5 separate regions of the Homo sapiens genome follow, and all the other regions are linked to region 3. The links are contacts of gene promoters, found by promoter capture Hi-C in blood cells and fetal thymus (Javierre and others, 2016). All regions are on one chromosome and are shown on one strand. Each heading gives the region's core, a stretch centred on a gene start or on the middle of the fragment in contact. The rest is flanking DNA. Distances are from core to core; before and after follow the strand shown. Region 1 holds the start of DIPK1B (divergent protein kinase domain 1B). Region 2 holds the start of LCN6 (lipocalin 6). Region 3 holds the start of ABCA2 (ATP binding cassette subfamily A member 2). Region 4 holds the start of NOTCH1 (notch receptor 1). Region 5 holds the start of ENTPD8 (ectonucleoside triphosphate diphosphohydrolase 8).

Region 1 (2,700 bases), core at 136-2,635, 320 kb before region 3:
GTCAAAAAAAAAAAAAAAAAAAAGGAAAAGAAAAGAAAGAAACTGTTAAGAGAATGAAAAGAAAGCCACAGACTGGGAGAAAAATCTTTGCAAATCACATGTGTAATAATGGGCAGATATCCAGAAGATATAAAGAAGTCTCGGACCAGGCATGGTGACTCACGCCTGTAATCCCAGCACTTTAGGAGGCTGAGGCAGGTGGATCACTTGAGGCCAGGAGTTTGAGACCACTCCGGCCTGGGCAACATAGCAAGACTCCCTCTCAAAAAAAAAAAAAAAAAAAAGTCTTGGCTGGGCACCAGGTGACTCATGCCTGTAATCCCAGCACTTTGGGAGGCCAAGGCAGGATGATCCCTTGAGCCCAGGAGTTCGAGACCAGCCTGGGCAAAACACTGAGACCCAGTCTCATTCTAGATATTAAAAATTAAAACCAAAATGTAAATAAGTCTCAAAACTTAATAATAAAGAAACAACGTGATTTTTATTAATGGTCAAAAACTTGAATAGACTTTGGAGAAGATACACAGGTGGTAACTGAACACGCAGAAAGTGTGTTAAACACGCGAACCACAGCCCCAGCGAGACGCCACCACCAGGGAAATGGCTAAAATGTAAAAACCTGCCGATAGCAAGAGCCGCCCGGGATGCGGAGCAGCTGGAAGCGCCGGCGGCCGCGGGGAGGGAGCGAGTCTTGGCAGCTGCTGGCTGCGCCCCACATCCCTCACCGTCCAACTCAGCCCCCCCAGGTGTTTACCGAAGTGCAATGAAAGCTTCTGTTCACACGGAACCTGCCTATGGAGGCGGCAACGGCTCATCCCCGAGCACCCCACGCGGAGGCGAAGGAAGTGTCCTCCCGGCGAGTGGCCAAGGCGCGGGGTCTCAGCCAGGAGGGAAGGGTCGGACCCCGGGGCGGGCTGCAGGCTCGGCCAGCCCAGGGCTCCGCGCGTCTGACCCCATCCTGAGGACCCAGGGGAAGGACCAGCCCTGGCTCTGCGGCCTCGAACCGGGGGCGCGCGTGGGGAGCCCTGAACCCCGCAGCCTGCGTAGCGCACGGGGCCTCTCTCCAGCGTGGGAAGAGCCCCCGAGACGCCCAGGAGCCCGACAGGCGCGCCCCCGGCCCCGGCTCCGCCTCCCGGCCCATCCCGCGCGCCCCCAGCCCCTCCCGCAGCACCGTTGCATGAGGGGCGGGGTCTGCGGGTGGGCGGGGCCTCGGTGCCCGCCCCCTCCTCAGCCGAGCCGGGGGTCGAAGGCGGGCCGCGCGCCAAGCCCCGCCCCCGCGCGCCTCCGCCGCGACCCTCCCCCGCGCGCCCCCGCCGCGCCGCCGTCGGCCGACAGAAAGGCGCGCGCCCTCGCCTTTAACGCGGGCCCGGGGGCGCGCGGCCCGCATGGCGAGGGAGCGGCGGCCGCTGCGGGCCGGGCCGGGCCGGGGCTGAGGCCGAGCGAGCCGCGGGGCCCGCGCAGCCCCGGCCGGAGCCCACCATGCGGCGGCTGCGGCGCCTGGCGCACCTGGTGCTCTTCTGCCCCTTCTCCAAGCGCCTGCAGGTAAGCGCGGTGCGCGCCCGCCGCCCCCGGCCGCCTCTGCCTGGGGAGGCCGAGCTCCAGCCCCGGAGTGGGCCGAGTACGGAGCGGGGCCCCGGGTTCGGACACGAAGGGTTCATGAGCCCGGGGTGGGCAGCGGGGAGGGGGCGAGTGGCTCCGGAAGGACGGGACGCTGGGGGAGGGGCGGTGGCGGCGACAGGAGGGTCCGGGCGCGGGGATGCTGCGGCCTGGAGGCCCTCGCCCCGACCTGCAGGCGGTCCCTGCCCCCCAGGCCCAGAAACCACACCGAAGTCCTTTCTTCTTTTCTCCACTTAAAAAATGAGGTGTGTTATTCTGCGGTAGAAAACTTGGGACGCACAGAAACGCCCTGGCAAGGACATGACCTCCCCGCCCCCTGCCCCTTCATCCCATCAGCCAGCCGTAGCGCGGGGACCCTGCCCTGACCCCGGGATGACCTTGAACCACCGTCCCCTCCAGGGGCCTGGCCGGGTCCGCAGGGGAGGCCCGGGCCGCCTTGGGTTCCAGCTGCCAGGAGCCCTTTCACCTTCTGCTTTGGGGAGATGCAGGCCAGGCCCATCAGGCTCCAATCATCCGGGGCCCGGCCTCGGATGGGATGCCCTCCCAGACCCTCCAGGACCCCAGCCATCTGCCGGAGGCGCCAGTCCTGGTCAGATTTGCCTGTATCTCCCCGGCCCCCGCAGGGTGGTCCTGGGTCAGCAGGAGGAACCCTGCCTGCGTCCTGCCTGAGCTCAGGGCCTGGCTGGCCTCAGCTCCCCTTCTGGGAAGAGCGTATGGAACCTGGCAACCCACAGATTGCAGCGAGACCCTCTGTGCCCACTTGGGGCTTCAGGTTGTGGTGGTCCCGGCTCAGCCTTGGGGCAGGGTGAGAGCTAAGGGGTCTGAGGACCACCCCAGTCGCTGGGAGGTGGGGTGCACAGTGGTCCCCTCCCCCGAGGAAAGGCCTCGACCAGCAGCTGCAGAAGAGATGCTGATGCTTGGAGCTCCGCCCAGGAATGGCAGCAGAGGGGTGTTGGCTGCTCCCAGGGTGGCTGGCTCGGGGCCAGAGCCCTGGTGGGAGCCCAGCCTGCCCCTCTAGTGGCGAGGGCCTCAGTTTCCTGGCCTTGTGAACTGCTTTTCTGGGTTAGTGCTGTGGGGCTCCTG
Region 2 (2,700 bases), core at 119-2,618, 280 kb before region 3:
GGATGCATGAAGGAGCATAGTCAGAGCAGTGCCCGCCGCGGTATTGAAGGTGGGAGTGCCACCTGGAGGCCCCAGGGACACAGATGTGAGTAGCTGGGCAGAGGGCTGGTGGCTCTGCACAGAGCCCAGTGGGAAAAGTGACGGGGGTGCAGAGGGGCCGTGGGAAGCCCCCAGGCCGCGGTGCCCGGGAGCAGATGTGCAAAGTACATGATGTGGCTGAGCCACAGTCCTGCCTGCGGGAAGGCCTGGCAGGACCCGCCCACTCACCCGTGCTGAGAGGACAGCGTCCGCAGGTTGTTTTCTGGAGTGAGGGTCACCACCACCCCCACGACGTTCTTCATGTCCTTCTCCATGGCAAAGCCCTTTTCCCGGGAGGCCACCGCAAGCACGTACCAGGGCCCAAGAAGCTGCATTGAGGCGGCTCCCGTTAGGGCCGCCAGCCCTCCAGCCTCCAGCCTCCAGCCTCCAACCCTCCAGCCTCAGCCTCCAGCCTCCAAACCTCCAGCCTCAGCCTCCACCCTCCAACCATCCAGCCCTCCAGCCTCCAGCCTCCAACCCTCCAGCCTCCAGCCTTCCAGCCCTGCAGCCTCCAGCCTCCACCCTCCAACCATCCAGCCCTCCAGCCTCCAGTCTCCAACCCTCCCGCCCTCCAGCCTCCAACCTTCCAGCCTTGCAGCCTCTAGCCTTCAGTTCTCCAGCCCTCCAGCCTCCAGCTTCCAACCCCCCAGACCTCCAACCCTCCAGCCTCCAGCCTTCCAGCCCTACAGCCTCTAGGCTCCAGCCCTCCAGCCTTCCAACCTCCAGCCTGCAGCCCTGCAGCCTCTAGTCTCCAGCTCTCCAGCCCTCCAGCCTCCAGTTCTGCAGCCCTCCAGCCTCCAGCCCTCCAGCCTCCAGTTCTACAGCCCTCCAGCCTCCAGCCCAGCAGCCTCCAGCCTCCAGTTCTCCAGCCCTACAGCCTCCAGCCCTCCAGCCTCCAGTTCTCCAACCCTACACCCTCCAGCCCTGCAACCTCCAGTCTCCAGCCTCCAATTCTCCAGCCCTCCAGCCTCCAACCCTCCAGCATCCACCCCTCCTGCCCTGAGGCTCCTGCCTGTGGGACTCCCCAAGGGCTGGCCCAACTAATTCCCCACTGCTCATGCTGGTCTGGGCTAGCCCTGGGGGGCCCAGAAGCTGTGTGGCCTTAAAGGAGGGGCTGGCCCCCGAGGACCAGCTCTCCCCACCCCCAGGAGGACTGTACCTGCTCAGGGTCCAGTCTTCCCAACCACACGGCCTGGGCCCTGGGCACCGAGACCAAAGCCAGAAAAGCAGCCAGCAGCAGGCCGCCCATCCTCCCAGGTCTACACTGCGCCGCAGGCCCAGGATGTGCAGTCCCTCCAGGCCCTGGAGACCCGTTTATATGGCTCTGAATTTCTCCGTGTGGGTGGCACTAACTGCCAGGAACCCTCCTGGCCTCCTGCAAAATTACCCAGGGGAGCACTGAGCAGTGGCAGCCTCTGAGCCCAGATCAGACCAGCTGCACAGCCAGGAGAGGGTCTGGAGTGTGTGGATCAACCATACTATACTGATCCCCTGCTTTCTTCCACCAGAAGGTTCCAGAATGGGCATCCTAAAGCCAGCCGCACCACCTCCCCCGTTCCTGGGGACCCACGCTCTCCCTCGCCCAGCCTGGGAAGCAGGGAGACTGCTGTCCGCTGCCAGGCCCGGCAGGAGGCCAAGGTCAAGCCCAAGGAGAGGAACCAGGGCGAGAACAAGTGGTTCTCAGGAACTGCGGTTTTGGATATCTTTTGTTTCAATCATTAAATATAAAAAGTCCCTGAAAGCCTTTTGAAAAAGGCTCCCACCTCCTCCTGGCCCACCCACCATTCTGCTTTGTGGCCTGGCCTCTGTCCCCCACAGCCAGCACCCCCAGAACAGACTGTCCTGTTCCTTCCACCTCTGCAGCCCACCATCCGGCCCTGCTGCCTCCTGCCTCCCCTCCCTGGGACCCTGGCCTGCTTGTGCCTCCCAAGGCCCCTTGAGAGCTCTCTGCAGCCCCAGTCCGGGAGCAGAGGACAGAGGTGCTCGGCAGGGTCTATCTGAGCCCCTGAAGCCCACTGGGAGGCAGCCGGGAGGGTCCTCCCCCAGTGCCGTGGCCTGCACCCTCTGGGATTCACTCCCACACACCTTCGCTCATTCATCAACAAGGGTGCAAGGAGCACGTCCATGCAACAAGGCTCCAGTGCCCAGGGCCGCCTGCACTCACAGAGCTTATGCTGCAGCCCTGGCCACCTGCCCTGTACCCACGCAGCAGGGCCTGTGACCACCAGAGTGCAGGAGGAAGGCAGAAACCACACAGCTACTGGGGGCTGGGCCTGCGAAGACTGACCGGGCAGTGGGGCCACGGAGGTGCCAGCCACAGCCATGGCAAGCAGGAGTTGCCCAGGGGCTGAGCCACAGAACAAGGGAGCGGGACACTTAGGCCTGGAGCCTTCAGGAGGGAGCCGTGGCTGCTCGCGGTAATCCCAGCACTTCAGGAGGCTGAGGCGGGAGGATCACTTGAGTCCAGGAGTTTGAGACCAGCCTGGGCGACATAGCAAGACTTCGTCTCTACAAGCAAGTTTAAAAATTAGCTGGACATGGTGGCGTGCTCCTGTAGTCCCAGCTACTCAGGAAGCTGAGGTAGGAGGATTGCTTGAGCCCAGGAGGTTGAGGCTGCAGTGA
Region 3 (2,700 bases), core at 35-2,534:
CCAGGTGCCCAGGGGAATTCTGCCAGCCATGGTGATGATGGCCACCCCAGCTGACTGCAGCCTGGGTTTCCTGCAGTGCATGTTGAAAGATAAACAGGCACGGACTGGTGCAGCCCAAGGGGTCCCGCCCGGGCCCTGGCTGGGCAAGAGGATGTCTGCCTTAGGCCCCCACCTGCTCTGAGCCCTGGCCTGGACAATCCCAAGGGCCTTCAGAAACCTAAGCTGGTCCAGGCCTGTGGCCTGGGAGGTGTCCCTTCCCTTCCCAGGCTGGAGCCAAGCTGGCCAGCTGGGGGTATGGCAGGACACCCATATCCCCAAGCCCCTCGCTCCACGAAGGACTTCTGTCCCTGACAGCCATGTGTCCTGCACCCTCAGGTCCACTGGCTGCCCAGGCAGTGCTGGGAAAGCCGGGGTTCACAGCTCCAAACAGTAGACCCAGCCCCCAGAGCAGGTGGGGGGACCAGGAGGCAACAGAGTGGATCAGGCTCGGGGAGAACTGACCCCAAAGGACAAATGGGTGCAGAGATTCAGGCTGGCCAAGGCTGGCACAAGGACATTCCCAGTGGCGAGAGCATGAGCAAGGGTCACGGATGTGCCAGGAGGGGAGGCGGAGAGATGCCTGGGACCAACCTCTATGGCAGGCCGCGGCCCAAGGGCAGGGGAGGGGTGGACGGAGGGAAGGGACAGGGTCTCCTCCGGGACCCCAGGGAGGCTGGGCCCAAGGACCATGGAGCCTCGCAGCTGAATGGAGCCCCCCAGGCCTGCCTTCTGTCCTGGGAACCAGGGCCTCCCTCGAGCCAGAGTCCTGAGCGCCGCTTGCCCCCCGCCCACAGCGGCCCCAGCGAGCGCGCTGCAGAGGGCGCGGGTGCCGTGACTCAGCCGAGCACCGCGATGTCAGCGGACGCGGGACCGGACTGGACACGACCGAGCCACCTCCCCGGAGGCCGCAGCGCCGGCAGGCGAGGGCAGGGCCCGGCGGGGAGGGGGCTCGGGCCCGCGCCGCCCCCAGCGCCCGCCGGGGTCTGCGCGCGCCCGGCCGTCCGCACGTGCGCGCGGGGAGCGCGCCTCTGGCCGCGGTGCGCGCGGCCTCGGGCTGAGGGCGGGCGCGTGGGGTGGGCTCACCGGGCTCCGGCGTTTGAGCGTCACGTTCTTCCAGAGCAGCAGCTGCAGCTGGTGCAGGAAGCCCATGGCGGGGCCACGCTCCGCCGCCTCAGCGCCGCGGCCCGCTCCTCTGCGCGCCCCGCCGGGCCCCGCAGCCCGCCGCGCCGCTGGGCATCGCCCGCGCGGGGGCGGGGCGCTCGGGCGTCCGGGACCCGATCCGCGCTGGCTCCGCCCCGGCGGCCGCGGCGACAGCGACTCTGCCCGCGCCCCGCCCGCCCCCGCTTAAAGGCGCCGCGCTCCGTCCGCGCCCGCCAGGAGGCGCCCGCCGCCCGCGCCGCGCCCGGGACCGACCCGGGCCCGAGACCCTGCGCGCGCCGCCGCCGGGAAGCCTCCGGGCCGCCCCTCGCCGGGCGTCACGCGACGCGCCCACATCGAATCCGAGACCCCGGCTTAGCCTTCGTAGGCCGGGGGACCCTCGGGCGCTGCGCTCTTCTCCCAGAGGCATCCGGCTGCGCCCACCGCGCTGGCGACTCTGCAGAGGCGCCCCAAGCCTTCACTGTCCCCGGGGCGCGCCGAGCGGACGCTGGCGAGGGGCCAGCTCACCCCCGTAAGGGTCTCCTGTGTGCTTTGTAAACCAGCACTTGGAGTCCAGGTGGTGCCCACCTGGAAGGGAGGCAGGGCGGCCAGGTGGGTCCGTCCCGCGATTCCGAGCAGCCAGCGGAAGGGGGGAAACTCGAGGCCCCAGGAACGCTCGCCGTGAGCGGAGCAGGCAGGGGACCGAGGCGGCCCCTGCTGCACGCGGCTCGTTTTTCTCCCCATATTCGGGCGAGTCTGGTCTCTGCACAGGGAGTTCGGGATCAGGCGGTTCTGCGGCTGTGGCTTGGCACCTGCTGGGGCGCCCCGGGAGGTGGGGCAGTTCCTCCGCGTGGCCTGTAGAGAGCGACAGAGGACAGGCTGACCCCATGGGTGGCTCTGACGGCGCTTCCCAGACTCAGTTTCCCCCCTGTGAATGGGGTGGAGTAGCGCTGTGTGGTGTCCAGTGTCAGGGCGCACATAGAAGGCGCATCCTCAAGTGAATGAAGACCTCCGAGGCCACAGCTCCCCACTCCTCCCAGCTCCTTTGCAGCAGGAAGGTGACCCTGGGCTAGTGAGTGAGGGATCAGCTTCCCACCCCAGCCCGCAGCCTCAAGGCACTTGCTTTTCTCTGCTCAGTCCACAGGGCTGGGTCAGGGCAGGAAGCTACCAGCAGGTCTTTCCCACAAGCCACAGCCATGGGTGAGGGGGGCTTCCTGCCCTCAACCTGCCCACCCCTACCTGGGGTAGGGACAAGCCCTGTGCCCCAGCCCCGGGGGCTTAGCCTGTTGGGGCCCTGGTCAGCACCACCCGTGGGTTGGCCTCTCTCCTCCTCGCCCCACTCTCCACCGTCCACTACAGGGGCTCCCTGGCTGCAGCCGCATCCCCAGTGCCTCCCCAGCACTGGCCACCAGAGGGAGCTACAAGGCACAGGTCAGACCCTGTCACCCCAGACACCCTCCAGCCTGCGGGCCTGGGAGATGGGCGATTTCAGCCTGGCCAGGCCTCTGACGTCCGTTCCCTACT
Region 4 (2,700 bases), core at 136-2,635, 480 kb before region 3:
ATCAGAGCGGCCCATTGTGGAGTCGGGGCCGCCTCCAGGGGCACCGGGACAGCACCCTGGGGACGCGGCCCCGCCTCCGCCGACACCCAATACCTGCCTCCGCGGGCGCGCATCTCCAGGGCAGCCCCCATACACCCACAGGAGGGGGATGAAGGTCCCCCATTCGGAAGGAATTCGACCCCATCTCGAGAAGGGATCAATTACTCAAGCCCCTCCCTCCCCATCTTACCGGGGCTGAGAAACGGGGGAGGGGGGTGTGACACAGAGCCGCACTTTCTGGAAGAGGACAGATAATTCTCGCCTCCAACTCTCGGAGAAAGAGTGGATTAATCACTCGATTCCCCAGAGACCCCGCTCGCTGTGCGGCGGGGAGAAATGTAAGAGCCCCCCACCCGCGTCCCGCTCTCCGCCCCCAAGCTTTCCAAACTTCAACTCCGCAAAGCAAAAGGAAAGTTCAGTCCCCCCGGGCGCGGCGGCTTCTTACGCAACCCCTCCCCCAAACTGAGAGCCGGGCTGGGGGGCACCGGCGGGCGGGGCGACCGGGAGCCCGGGGACCCAGCCCGGCCGCGCGGGTCAGTGAAGGCGAACGCGGCGCCGCAGAGCCCACACTCCGCGCCCCAACATCCGCCCCGGCGTGGGCCAGAGGCGAAGAAGAAAGAAGATAAATGGCCCGGAGAAGCAACAGGAAACCAAAACCGACTCTATTCAAATCGAAAAATAGTAGGCAGCCCGCCCGCCCGGCCGACCGGCGGCAAGCCCCACGCGCGGCGGGTGAAGGGCGGGCCCGGAGTAGGGCCTCCGGGGCCCCAGCACCCCACACCGGCCTCCTAACTCGGCTCCAGGCACGGGCGGCGCGAGTCCGCCTCCACGGGGGGATCGAGGGGGAAGGTCGGTCCTCCCTGATCCCGGGACTCCAGAACCCCACGCCCCGGGCCGCCCGCTTTTCCCTCTCCATGCTGGCCTCCCCGCCGCCCGCTCCCAGCCGTGGGGCGCGCGCGCCGGGCGCCGCCAAAGTTTCCAAAGGGCGCGGAAAGTGGGGGCTCGCGGGTGGGTGGGCGCCTACCTCGTGCGGCGAGCGCGGGCAGCAGCGCCAGGCAGAGCAGGGGCGCCAGGAGCGGCGGCATGCCTCCCCACCGGCTGCCCTCTGCGCCCGGGCGGCGGCCTCCTGCGCTGGCCGGCGGGGCTGGGACGCACACGCGCGGCGTACGGTCCCGGGGCGGCGGCGGACGGTCCCGCCCTCTCTTCCCCGGCTGGCTGGCGGCGCTGTGCTCTCGCAGGCCCCCGGGCCCGGCTCCGCGCCCGGCTCGTTCCTTCGCTGCGCTCGCGCCCGCGCCCGCGCCCCGCGCCCCGCGCCCTTGCGCTCCCTCCCGCGGCCGAGGCACTAGTGAGGCTCAGAGTCGAGGTGCGCTCCGCCCCCGCCGGCCCCGCCCCGCCCGGCCCCACCCCCGCCGGTCCCCCCGCCCCCTCCGCGGCCACCTCCTCCCGCACGCCCCGTCCGCCTTTGCGCCTCCCCGAGCTGAGCCGCGCGTCCCGAGCCCAGCCTCTCCGGGGAGGAGGGACCCGGCGGCGCGGCGTGGGTCGGGAGCGGGCGCCTGGGACTACTTCTCGTTTGAAAGTTTTCAGAGGCCAAAAGTTTGAGCCGGGGCTGCGGAAGGATCCGGCTCTGGCGGTTGCCGCGCTCGGCGACAACTGGCGACTGAAATTTGCATGTGAATAAGCGGAGGAGCCCGGGGCGGAATGGGGAGGGCGAGGCCGCGGACAGCCGTGTGCACCGTGCGCTGGGCCGGGCGGGGAGCAGCTGAGGCCACGTTGGGGGACCCCGGGCCCGGGGCAGGGCTCTGGGAGAGTGGCCTAGCCGTGTGTGCGCCCCTAGCCCAGCGGCTTCACTCCCTCCCGAGGGCCCCGTGGCCGCGGCTTTAGGCGTCCAGAGGATCGATCGCCGCCAGACATCCCTGGCCGTGATTGCCCGAGCACTTGACCGCGAGGGATGGGGGCGCCGCGGCCTCTGGGCAGGGGACTCCGGGCGCCCCGAGGGAGCAGCCGGGACCAGTGCCTCGCGGACGGATTGTGCCCCGCTCCCCCAAGGGGGACCCGCGTCGACACGCTCCTCGGTCACCGTCCTCCTCCTGCCCGGGCGCCGCCTGCCTAAGGTGGCCCCAGAAAGCACAAACGGGTCGGGCGGATCTGCCGCTGGCGCCGGCGCAGCCCTTCCCACGTGCTCCTTCCGGCTGATTTATTTCTCCACCACGATGCCAGGCACGGGCACCCTGTGCCAAGCCTGGTTAAGCGCCAGGAGTCCAAAATGCCTGCCATAGTCCCTGCGCAAAGTTCACGGCCTCGTGCCAGGGACAGACAGCGCCCCCTCCCCACCCCAACACAGGGTGGTGAGTGCGATGGCAGAAGGCGCGTGTCCCGGCGCCCCTCCTGGAGTAGGAGGGCTAAGCCTGCCCTGCGGGGAGACCGAAAGGCTGGGAGGGACCTAGGACTGTGGGGGCCTGGGGGGAGGGCTGCAGAAACCCCAGAGCATGGTGGCAGAGGCAGGCACAGAAAGCAGGACAAATCTCACACCTGACCCCAGCAAGCCTTTCCTGGCACACCTCTTGCCAAATGCTGAGCACTCTGGAAACAGCCAGTGCAGGCGGCCTGTCCCGCCCCTGTAGCTGCTGCTGGGAGCCTCCCTCGCCTGCGTCCTCCCAGAAT
Region 5 (2,700 bases), core at 201-2,700, 410 kb after region 3:
AGACCAGGACAGTGCCCCCAGACCAGGAGAGCCCCCCAGACCAGGACACCCCCTCAGACAGAACAGTCCCCCAGACCAGGACAGCCCCCCAGACCAGGACAGCCCCCCCCAGACCAGGAGAGCCCCCCAGACCAGGACACCCCCTCAGACAGAACAGTCCCCCAGACCAGGACAGCCCCCCCAGACCAGGACAGCCCCCCAGACCAGGACAGCCCCCCCAGACCAGGACAGCCCCCCCAGACCAGGAGAGTCCCCCAGGCCAGGACATCCCCTCACACAGAACAGTCCCTGAGACCAGGACAGCCCCCCCAGACCAGGACACCCCCTCACACAGAACAGACTCCCAGATCAGGACAGCCCCCCAGACCAGGACAGCCCCCCAGACCAGGACAGCCCCCGCCAGACCAGGACAGCCCCCCCCAGACCAGGAGAGCCCCCCAGACCAGGACACCCCCTCACACAGAACAGATTCCCAGACCAGGACAGCCCCCAGACCAGGACAGCCCCCCCCAGACCAGGACAGCCCCCCAGACCAGGACAGCCCCCCCCCAGACCAGGAGAGCCCCCCAGGCCAGGACACCCCCTCAGACAGAACAGTCCCCCAGACCAGGACAGCCCCCCAGACCAGGACAGCCCCCCCCAGACCAGGAGAGCCCCCCAGACCAGGACACCCCCTCAGACAGAACAGTCCCCCAGACCAGGACAGCCCCCCCAGACCAGGACAGCCCCCCAGACCAGGACAGCCCCCCCAGACCAGGACAGCCCCCCAGACCAGGACAGCCCCCCCCAGACCAGGACAGCCCCCCCAGACCAGGACAGCCCCCCAGACCAGGACAGCCCCCCCAGACCAGGACACCCCCTCAGACAGAACAGTCCCCCAGACCAGGACAGCCCCCCCAGACCAGGACAGCCCCCCAGACCAGGACAGCCCCCCCAGACCAGGACAGCCCCCCAGACCAGGACAGCCCCCCCCAGACCAGGACAGCCCCCCAGACCAGGACAGCCCCCCAGACCAGGACAGCCCCCCCAGACCAGGACACCCCCTCAGACAGAACAGTCCCCCAGACCAGGACAGCCCCCCCAGACCAGGACAGCCCCCCAGACCAGGACAGCCCCCCCAGACCAGGACAGCCCCCCAGACCAGGACAGCCCCCCAGACCAGGACAGCCCCCCAGACCAGGACAGCCCCCCCAGACCAGGACACCCCCTCAGACAGAACAGTCCCCCAGACCAGGACAGCCCCCCCAGACCAGGACAGCCCCCCAGACCAGGACAGCCCCCCCAGACCAGGACAGCCCCCCAGACCAGGACAGCCCCCCAGACCAGGACAGCCCCCCAGACCAGGACAGCCCCCCCAGGACATCCCTTTGGACCCTCACCTGGGCTGGCTGCCCACTTCCCGGAGCGGCAAGGAGGAAGCTGTGCTTAGACGCTTCTGTGTCCGCGCACCTGGCGTCCAGCCTCTCCCTGCCCCTGGGTCCAGGACAGCTGGGGTGGGCGGGGCAGGGCGGTGACAGCCTCGGGCGATGCGCTGTGCACCTGGCTCCAGGGCCCGCAGGCTGAGGCCAGCGCCCAAGGTCGCCCCGCCCACTCCACCCTCGGGTCCCCCGCCCAGGGTCTCCCCGCATCTCCCACCCGCGGGTCTGTCTCGGTGCCCAGGGTCGCCCCGCCCCCGGGGGGGTGGGAGGCAGGAGAGGGAAGCTGAGGAGGAGCCTGGAGCTGCGAGGGGCAGAACTCCGGGACCCCGCCCCCCACGGCCCGCAGCCGCGCTCCTGACCCCGGCCCGGACTTTACCCCCCGTGCCGCCCGGCCCGGGCAGGTCGGAGTCAGGTGACCCCGAAGGTCCAGGCCCGGGGCGGGGGCGGAAGCGCCTGCAGCCCCGCGGCGCCCGTCGTTTTCCATTTGCAGCCACTCTGCCTTTCCCGCTCGCCGTGGGTCCCGGGGCCGCCGCCGTCGGGGTCCGGGCCTCTGAAGCGGGGCGGGGCTGGGGGAGGCGCGGAGCCAGGGCCGGGCTGGGTGGGGCTGGGGGTGTTGGGGGGCGGGGAATAGGGTGGGGGAATGCGGGGGGGCGGTGAATTCCTTTCTGTGTGAGATCCAAGAACCCTCTTGGGGTCTCAATCGGGACTCTCTTTACTGGTAGCATATTTGGTGTCATGTGTGTGCATTTTTGTGCTTTTTCTTGGTGATTTCACTGTTTATAATGGCGTCTCAGCATAGTGCAGAAATGCAAGAAGGCTGAGATGCACTTTACAGAGAAAACACACATTGGATAAGCTTCATTCGTGCAAGAGTTAGCGCTGTTGGCCATGAGTTCAATGTTAGTGATACAATACATATTAAGTAAGGTGCCCTTAAACAAAAATACACATAAAAGAAGGTTTTATTAATATATTGATCATTTAACAAAAATGTGACCAGAAGCTTGCAGGAACAGAACTTTGCATTTCCCTTAGGAGCAATAGTTTAGCATATTCTTTAATTCAGTGTTTGCAGCAACTTTATACACTAGCTGCCATGGGTCATAAGAGTCAAATGTGTTTGTTGAGGATTTTTGCAGTTGTGTTCAACAAAGTTGCATAGTTTTCTTTTTTAGTCCTGGTTTCTGTATGGGGATAATGCTGGGCTTATAAAATGAGTCTGGGAAGTTGTCCTTTTTTTTTTTTTTTTTTGAGATGGAGTCTCGCTCTGTCACCCAGGCTA

The links. Contacts are between HindIII fragments. The CHiCAGO score rates a contact against its expected background, and 5 or more counts as called.
Region 1: the fragment with the promoter of DIPK1B here is called in contact with the fragment with the promoter of ABCA2 in region 3 in 1 of 17 cell types (fetal thymus); the score reaches 6.6 in fetal thymus.
Region 2: the fragment with the promoter of LCN6 here is called in contact with the fragment with the promoter of ABCA2 in region 3 in 12 of 17 cell types (endothelial precursors, erythroblasts, M0 macrophages and 9 more); the score reaches 10.3 in endothelial precursors.
Region 4: a contact is called between the fragment with the promoter of NOTCH1 here and the fragment with the promoter of ABCA2 in region 3, in 5 of 17 cell types (total CD4 T cells, non-activated CD4 T cells, M0 macrophages and 2 more). The highest score is 5.9, in total CD4 T cells.
Region 5: a contact is called between the fragment with the promoter of ENTPD8 here and the fragment with the promoter of ABCA2 in region 3, in 5 of 17 cell types (erythroblasts, M0 macrophages, naive B cells and 2 more). The highest score is 9.9, in erythroblasts.

The regions. Positions count from the first base shown.
Region 1 is chr9:136,711,187-136,713,886 of GRCh38, forward strand. It overlaps DIPK1B (divergent protein kinase domain 1B), which reads left to right and starts at 1,386. Exons shown (of 5, transcript NM_152421.4): 1 at 1,386-1,542. The coding sequence starts at 1,480. RefSeq lists an enhancer at 2,049-2,700. The HindIII fragment of the contact is 2,091 bases long and covers 769-2,700 here.
Region 2 is chr9:136,747,157-136,749,856 of GRCh38, forward strand. LCN6 (lipocalin 6) reads right to left here and starts at 1,369. Exons shown (of 7, transcript NM_198946.3): 1 at 1,238-1,369; 2 at 268-407. The coding sequence starts at 1,327. It overlaps LOC100128593 (a long non-coding RNA gene), which reads left to right. Exons shown (of 3, transcript NR_033913.1): 2 at 1-1,416; 3 at 1,590-2,700. The HindIII fragment of the contact is 9,973 bases long and covers 1-2,700 here.
Region 3 is chr9:137,026,953-137,029,652 of GRCh38, forward strand. ABCA2 (ATP binding cassette subfamily A member 2) reads right to left here and starts at 1,285. Exons shown (of 49, transcript NM_001606.5): 1 at 1,123-1,285. The coding sequence starts at 1,188. It overlaps LINC02908 (long intergenic non-protein coding RNA 2908), which reads left to right and starts at 512. Exons shown (of 3, transcript NR_171031.1): 1 at 512-959. RefSeq lists a silencer at 1,363-1,542 and an enhancer at 1,426-2,170. The HindIII fragment of the contact is 3,387 bases long and covers 1-2,700 here.
Region 4 is chr9:136,544,663-136,547,362 of GRCh38, forward strand. NOTCH1 (notch receptor 1) reads right to left here and starts at 1,386. Exons shown (of 34, transcript NM_017617.5): 1 at 1,064-1,386. The coding sequence starts at 1,124. MIR4674 (microRNA 4674) reads right to left here and starts at 1,597; the gene lies at 1,511-1,597. RefSeq lists enhancers at 221-270, 2,243-2,700 and silencers at 501-550, 771-1,030, 1,051-1,610, 1,951-2,050. The HindIII fragment of the contact is 3,030 bases long and covers 416-2,700 here.
Region 5 is chr9:137,439,907-137,442,606 of GRCh38, forward strand. ENTPD8 (ectonucleoside triphosphate diphosphohydrolase 8) reads right to left here and starts at 1,451. Exons shown (of 10, transcript NM_001033113.2): 1 at 1,380-1,451. RefSeq lists a silencer at 1,311-1,605. The HindIII fragment of the contact is 13,084 bases long and covers 1-2,272 here.